3 separate regions of the Homo sapiens genome follow, and all the other regions are linked to region 3. Evidence: promoter capture Hi-C in 16 types of primary human blood cells and fetal thymus (Javierre and others, 2016). All regions are on one chromosome and are shown on one strand. The core of a region is centred on a gene start or on the middle of the fragment in contact, and the rest is flanking DNA. Distances in the headings are between cores, read along the strand shown. Region 1 has its middle 27 kb from the start of KLRB1. Region 2 has its middle 10 kb from the start of CD69. Region 3 holds the start of CLEC9A (C-type lectin domain containing 9A).

Region 1 (2,700 bases), core at 162-2,661, 400 kb before region 3:
GACAAGAAAAGAAGATGGACCCTCCATGTTGAACATGCCTGGCCCTCAGGTAGCCCTTTTCTATTGGCACAGCTGCTGGCATTCATCTGTGCAAGCTTCCAGCTTGCTCATGTATGTCTGCAGCTCGATTTCTCAGGCTGCTCTTTGTTAGAAAAGAAATGATTTTTTGGGCTGCTTTTTGTTAAAATGGAAAATTCTGCCTATGACTCTGTTGTCCTTACTATCTGCCTAAATAATTTATTTCTATGTCCTGTATCACTGGATTCCCCCCACCTACCAAGTTGTTCTTAAAAACTGCTCCCTGAATGCTCTAAGAGACTGATTTGAGTTTTGAATAAAACTCTGGACTCCCACACAGCTGCCTCTGCATGAGTTACTCTTTCTCTATTGCAATTTCCCTGTCTTGATATATTGGCTCTGTCTAGGCCTTGGGCAAGGTGAACCTGTTGGGTGGTTACATTCTCACTGTTATAATTTTTCAAAGGTGATTTCAGTCATGCCACCATCAGTGTAGGTCTCACCTGGGAGATTGTTAGAAATGTAGAATCCTGGACCCAGTGAATATGAATCTGCAGTTTTAAAAGATCTCCAGGTAATACATAGATGAATTAAAGTTTTAGAGCTAATGCTATAAGTGACATGGCTTCTTGATAAGTTATTTTCCGATTTTCAATCTGAGGTCCCCTGGGCTGCCTGCATGGATGTGTGGATAGGGGTTGAGGAAAAGGATGAACATTGGTGTTTCTCTTCAAGAGTTTGAATTTGATGTTTGTTTGCACACTTCAATGTATCTGTATATTTTAAAAAGTGGAGCAGTTATTCCTAGAGTGAAACTTTTGTATTCACCTAGAAAATCCATTTCAACTATCTGAGTTAGTTTACCAACAGTTCCCAGAAGAGGGCGCTGCAATGCCTTTCTTTTTCTGTCCTTACACCTGTGTACTGAAGTCAGAAACTAATTGATGAAATGTTTAAATCCACATTATTTCATTGGAGGTACCAATACTTGTATTTGCTAAGTAGATATTCTTTTCTTTACTTTGTAGATGAGTAAACAGGAAGACTGAACTGTTTCTCAACTCCCAAATTCAGGCTTCTTTCAAAATCTACAGTATCATTGGGGGCTGTTATACCAGGACACATGGAGGTGAAGAACTAAAGCAAAATCGTGTCTACTTCACAGTTTTGCCTAAGGCTGGGCTTAATTCTTAAAAAGGTAGCTCTGCTCTTAGTTGAGTGGTCTGGCTAAATTCAAGCAGATTAAACCAGTGTTTATTGTGTTGCTTTGCTAAAAGCCTTTTAGCTGCTTTCAACACAAAATGTTATCCATATTGCTTAGACTTTGCAAACGTAAATAAAATATTCTGTTATGAGTTTTGCAAGAATTTTGAGGGTGAGTTAATGTCAAGGTACCTCTGAACAAGATTTTATACATGTATAGGATGAACGGGACTGCCTTGATGTTCCCCTCAACTTGACTAAACTTTAGACAGATTTCTCCCTGACGTATCACTCCTTTACTTCTCTTTTCTTAGATTGTTTACTTTAGAAAACTTCCCACTATAAATTCTTTCTGTCTTCTTATTTGAGATTTAAATTTTTCTCTAGCCTTTTATCGGTTTTGCAACCCAGGAATATCTTTCTCAAAGACCTGGGAGCCATTTCTTTGAAAAATAATCATCAAGAAAAATAGTTCCCTTATCTTCCCATCTCTGTGGGAGGGTAGTACTCTAACTTCCATATGTGCCAGTTAGCAAATACAGATGGCCTAATCATGTTGACCCACCTTCCCCACTAATATTCTCCAGAACTTTTTCACTAGCATACTCCAGCCTTTACAATCTCTCCTGCTTTTTGTTCAACAGATTTGAATACAGTCTCTCTTTCTTATTGGAACAGGCTTGACACCTATTGCAACAATTTTGAATAAAGTCTTCCTTGCCTATTTAACTTTGTCCAATGCAATTTTTCTTTGAGAATAGCCTACAGAGATTCAAATACAATAAGGTTATTGTATTAGCTACTTGCATACTACTAGCATTCTTTATGACTCATTATTAGAAAATAATAAGTGCAATTGAGGAATATGGGTATTTTTCCTCTACAATTGAAACCACTGAAAAGTAATCCTATAAACAAAGTAGCCCCTGTCCAATGTCTTTCCCTTATATCTTCCTAAAACACATTATTCTACTGTTCTTCCCACTTCAAGGGCCACAGTTTCTCATTTGCTGACTTTTCCTGTGTTTTCCTCTAAATGCAAAATTAAGATTTTATTCTTGGCTCACTTCACTTCTGTATTTACACAGGTACAGATGTGTAGATTAACAGATCTAGTTGTCGCTTCCACAGTTACCCTTCTGCAAACCTGTTCCACCTAGCAGTCAGAGGTATCTTCTAAAATATAAAAATGCAAAAGTATCTTTTCTCTGCTTGAAGTCCTTCAATAGCTCCTTTTTGCAGTTAGAGAAAAAAATGATACCCAAATCCTTCTCGCTGTTTAACAAGGTCCAATACAATCTAGCATCTTTACATGTCCTCAGCCTCAACCTTCACCACTCATCCTTCTCCACTTCTGCCTCCACTGCCATGTTGATCATATTAGATCCACAAGAACTTCTTTCCATTCCTAGCACATGCCAGGTTCCCCTTCCTTAGGCCCTTTGCTCCTGCTGTTCCCAAGGTAAGGAATGCTCATTC
Region 2 (2,700 bases), core at 10-2,509, 280 kb before region 3:
GATCCAAAATTATAGAAAAACATAAAGAAAATAAATACTTCCTATATTCCTCCTCCTCAGGGAAAACCACTGTGTTTACTTTAGTAGTTTTACTTTCTGTCAGCATATAGAAATATAAAACATGTTTTGTATATTTAATATTGAACAGGAAATAATCCTATTGTATATATTATTTTAAACTAGCAGCAATAATAGTTTGAGTATTCTTTCATATACATAAATGTTCTTCATTATTTTTTAATGTTGGGATAGCATTTCATCATGTAGGAGCATTATATTTATTTAACTAAATCTTTGGTTTTGGACAATTAGGTAGCTTCTGATTTTTCACTACTAGAAATATCCCTTTGATAAACATTTTTGTGGTTATGTCTTGCACATCCAAGATTATTTCTTTAAAATCTCCCTCCCTCCCCAGTAAGTATTGTCAAGCTGCTTTCCAAAGGGTAAAGGAAACCAGTTTACACCATCACCAGCAGTCGTTCTGGTCATATATTTCCCAATATTTTTCCCTGAAAAATCATTTACATTTTAATTTCAGTTATAATACATTTTCATGTGCAAAATCTAATCAAATTATGAAAATTGACAGCAAGCTTAAAAATATCATTTCTATATTAGTATCATACAATTTTTAAGTAGTTGAATACTGACTATAGCACCTAACAGTTCAATGGCATTTTAGCCTTTTTAAAAAGTTTTATCCAATCCCTACAATTATGTGAAATGTGCAGCTGATGTATTCCCCTTTCCAGAGGAAGAAATTGAAATTATGTTGAAAAAGCAACGCAAAACACGGATAACTGATAGTTTTATTTTACACATATTTATGTAACTATCCAAGATGAATGTAGCCTACAGAGTTAAAATTTTGATAATTAGCTAAAGGTTTGAATACAGGAGTATATCTTTAATATGCTTCCATAGCACCCTACGTTTTTCCTATTATAACATTCATCACACCATGTCAATTCATCTTGTTGTTTGTTTTACAAATAGACCACGAATTCCACAAGGCCAGTTGCCATGCGGAATTTGCTGAGTATTTTAACTCTGGTGTCCACCATAGTAGTAGGTGCTTACTTATAACTTGTGAAATGAAATTTTTAAAAGGCTTTCCAAAAACAAATACAAATAAGATATATTACGTAGAAATAGACATGTCGTGTAGAAACGCGGCTTTATGCCAATACTGGAAGTTTGAAGACATAGTGTTTCTAGTTCTAATAATCATCATGAGTATTTAATACATGCCTATGGTGTACTAGGGAGCCAGATAATGTTTTAAGTTTGTTTTCATGTACTAACTAATTTAACATCTAACTAATTTTAGCTGAATTTTGAACGAGTTCTGATAAAATAGCTAGTCAGCCCGCGCGTGGCAGAGATGAAACTCGGGCGGTCTGGCCCCCGTGCTTTGGGTCTCAGCAGCTCCACGCTCCACATAGATGTTTTGTAGGATCCTTAAAACAGAAGTGCAGTAATCTCGTATAACCACTAGATGGCACTGCAACTTTTGTAACAGGGGACTTAGCCGGGGGCAGGAGGGGTTCTTGAGACAAACCCATTTTTTATATTTGTCATTGGTCACTTGCAAGTAGAGTCATACTTTAAATAATAACATTATTCCCTTTAAGAATTGTATATTTTTTATCTATTTAAAGAAAACAGTTGTCCTTATGAATAAAATGACTTCAAATTATGTGTAAAAAATAACTCTGTTATCCGTGTTTTGCGTCGCTTTTTCAACATAATTTCAACTTCTTCCTCTGGAAAGGGAAATACATCAGCTGCTCATTTCACATAATTATAGGGATTCAATAAAATTATTTGTAAAAATGATAAAATTCATTGAATTGTTAGGTGATACAGTCAGTATTCAATGACTTAAAAATTGTGTCATACTAATATAGAAATATTTTTAAGCTTGCTCTCAATTTTCATAATTTGATTAGATTTATGCACATAAAAATATGTTATAACTAAAATATTAATCGCAAGACATTGTTTTCTAAGATGACTCGGGAGTAGATTGTTGGTAATGATAGAATATTACCGCTAGGAGGCTGCTTGTTTCTTTTTTCCCACAGCTGTGGGAACTCAGGAGCACAGAGGTCATTATTTTTCACTAAGCAGTGTCTGAAATCCACATTTCTGTTTGCCGTTTGCCAATAGTTTAGAGATACCATACACATCATACATTTCCAACAAGCAGAGAAGAATATTGCAAATTACATTTATAAAACAATTTTGAAGGTAATCAAATGTATTAGGCTATTCTTGCATTGCTATAAAAATATCTGAGACTGGGTAATTTATAAAGAAAAAAGGCTTAATTGGCTTACGGTTCTGCAGTTTTTACAAGCATAATGCTGACACTGCTCAGCTTCCGCGGAAGCTTAGGGAGCTTTTATGTATGTTGGAAGGTGAAGTGGAGTGGGAGCAGGCATGTCACATGGAGAAAGCAGGAAAGAGAGAGAGAAAGAGAGAGAGAGAGAGAGAAAGTGCTGCACACTTTGAAAAGACCAGATCTCCTGAGAACTCACTCAGGTGCAAGGAGACCATCAAGAGGATGATGCTAAACCATTCATGAGAGATTCGCTCCCATGATGTAATCACCTCCCACCAGGCCCCACCTCCAACAAAGGGGATTACAATGCGACATGAGATTTGGGCAGGGACACACATCCAAACTACATC
Region 3 (2,700 bases), core at 58-2,557:
ACCTCTTTTTTTTTTTTTTTACTTCCACTTGACACCTTTCTGGGGTAATAGGTATGTTGTACCTGAATTCCACTCTCCCTCAAAATATCTGTCTCAAATTTGTATATACATTAGTAGGTATCAATCAGGAAGGTCTCCCTCAACCCATTCAATAGGCCCTGCCACAAAATTTGAAAAGTTTAAAAAATTCAGAGCCCTGCTTATGTACATGGGTGTACATTTTTGCAGACAAAAATCCCCTGTGCCCTACCTACTCAGCAATCTTCCCCCTTCCTATCAATCTTCCTCTTCCCCTGAATCATTGGTCACAACTGATCTCTTTGTTTTCTTTGTCTTGGTTTTTCTCGAATGTCATATAGCTAGGATAATATGATAGCTTTTCAAACCGGCTTCTTTCACGTAGTAATATGCATTTAAGATTCCTCCATGTTTTTCATAGTTTGACAACATTTCATTTTGTTGTCGAATGATACTCCATTGCATGAATGTACCACAGTTTGTTTATCCACTCATCTTTTGAAAGACATCATAATTACTTCTAATGTCTGGCAATTATGAATAAAGCTCCTGTGAAAATGTGTGTGCCAGTTTTTGTGTGTGTTGGGAGCAAGCCCCCCAAAATCCGGCCATAAACTGGCCCCAAAACTGGCCATAAACAAAATCTCTGCAGCACTGTGACATGTTCATGATGGCCCTAACACCCATGCTGGAAGGTGGTGGGTTTACGGGAATGAGGGCAAGGAGCAGCTGGCCCGCCCAGGGTGGAAAACCACTTAAAGACATTCTTAAGCCACAAACAATAGCATGAGCAATTTATGCCTTAAGGGCATGTTCCCGCTGCAGTTAACTAGCCCAACCTATTTCTTTAATTCGGCCCATCCCTTTGTTTCCCATAAGGGATACTTTCAGTTAACCTAATATCTACAGAAACCATGCTAATGACTGGCTTGCTGCTAATAAATACGTGGGTAAATCTCTGTTCGGGGCTCTCGGCTGTGAAGGCTGTGAGACCCCTCATTTCCCACTTCACACCTCTATATTTCTGTGTGTGTCTTTAATTCCTCTAGCGCCTCTGGGTTAGGGTCTCCCAGACCGAGCTGGTCTCAGCAGTGTGTACAGGTTTTCCACTTTCTATGGTTCCTAGATTGTCTGTTAATACTATACTTACCTCTATAAGAAACTGTCAAGTTTACCGGGCCGCGAGGGTGCAGGCTGCGCAGATGGTGTGGTCCTGCGCCCCGAGGGCCGCAGCAGCTCATCCGGCAGCTCCCACCCCAACAACCTGGAAGGGGGCGGGACTTCCGTTTGTACCCGGCTGTGGCAATCTGTGGTGAAGTTGAAATGCTTTTCTGCTAGACTGGCAACATGTTTTGATTCTTCTCAAATAACTCGCAAGCTCTTGTGAAGCACAACGGCCTACCTTGTCCTGAAGAAAACATACTCTAAGGCCCACAGATGATTAAACCCAGCCATTTATGTGACAATAGCATTTTTATTTTTCTTATCAAGATCTGGGTATTTGATCCACACAATGGTAAAGATTCCCATGTTAGCCAAGATCTAAATGATTCAAACTGATGATACTCTCTGCAGAAGAGGTAAGAACCACTGGCAGTAGGGTGGAAGGTATGTCATTACAGATGATGCTGACAGAGAAGGTCATCTGAACCTACTTTATAAGAAAGGCATGATTAAAGGAGAAAGGGGAAAGGGCATTCTAGGTTAGGAAAGATTCTGAAGAAATGTAAAATAATATGAAGGTGTGAGCTGATATATTTAAGAAATAATGAATGATATGTGGGAGTATGTATCATCTGCAGAGATGGATGAGGGAAGATGCAAGTGGAGGGGAAGGCTGGAGCCGCTGGTGGAAAGACGTTAAGTGTATTTCAATGGCCTGATACTGCAGGCAGTAGACAGCCTCTGTAAATCAGGTAGCTTCCTTACTCTTGCTCCTACTGATCCCTCAGTCTAAAATGCCCTCTGCACTTTCTCTTTAGAGATAGAGAGGGAAAGGGAGTCAAACACGAAATCTCCAGGAGGCCATCCCTGGTTATTTCTTACTCCTCTGTTGATTTCCTTTAATCTGTGAAGTGTCTTCTAACTCGTGGCCTGAGGCTTTAGTGACTCTGCTGACTCATTGTCTGGTGCTACTGATTGTGCTAATGGTCTTCGATATTGTGTCCAGTGCCCCCCACCATTTTGGGAAGAAATTGGCTTTAGTTTTTACTCAGATTGAAATTTTATTTAGAAACGGGAGTAGCAAGACCAGGTGCAGTTAGTTACACCTGTAATCCCAGCATTTTGGAAGGCCAAGGTGGGAGGATTGCTTGAAGCCAGGAGGTTGAGAAATGGGAGTAGCAACCAATGTCGGTAGAAGAAACAGCATATAATAACAGGATGTGATAAATCTCAAGAAAAGTTACGCACAAATTACTATGGCAGCAGGAACGAGTGAGCCGCCCGATGCTGTCAGTGAAGGCTCTGAGGATTGGGAAGGATTGGCAGGGTTACAGGAGACAAACAAATGCTACAAATAACATTCCAAGTAGAAGGGGAAGTGAGGGTAGGGAAAGGAATGCAGACAAGGCTGAGCCTTGTTTGGAGAGCTAAGTTCAGTGTTGCAGATGCTCAATGTCATACCTTAGGAGGGAATTGCAAATTAAAACAACAATGAGAAACCACTGTATACTATTTGAA

What was found. Contacts are between HindIII fragments. The CHiCAGO score rates a contact against its expected background, and 5 or more counts as called.
Region 1: a contact is called between a fragment that was not itself captured here and the fragment with the promoter of CLEC9A in region 3, in 1 of 17 cell types (neutrophils). The highest score is 5.2, in neutrophils.
Region 2: a contact is called between a fragment that was not itself captured here and the fragment with the promoter of CLEC9A in region 3, in 7 of 17 cell types (M2 macrophages, megakaryocytes, M0 macrophages and 4 more). The highest score is 17.1, in M2 macrophages.

What each region holds. Positions count from the first base shown.
Region 1 is chr12:9,633,481-9,636,180 of GRCh38, forward strand. It overlaps the pseudogene LOC374443. Among named protein-coding and RNA genes, the nearest start is that of KLRB1, 27 kb to the left of the region's middle. The HindIII fragment of the contact is 2,637 bases long and covers 94-2,700 here.
Region 2 is chr12:9,749,422-9,752,121 of GRCh38, forward strand. No RefSeq gene overlaps it. Among named protein-coding and RNA genes, the nearest start is that of CD69, 10 kb to the right of the region's middle. RefSeq lists an enhancer at 1,292-1,586 and a silencer at 2,047-2,126. The HindIII fragment of the contact is 1,330 bases long and covers 595-1,924 here.
Region 3 is chr12:10,029,375-10,032,074 of GRCh38, forward strand. It overlaps CLEC9A (C-type lectin domain containing 9A), which reads left to right and starts at 1,308. Exons shown (of 9, transcript NM_207345.4): 1 at 1,308-1,598. It overlaps LOC102724020 (a long non-coding RNA gene), which reads right to left and starts at 1,249. Exons shown (of 4, transcript NR_169587.1): 1 at 1,169-1,249. The HindIII fragment of the contact is 4,478 bases long and covers 1-2,700 here.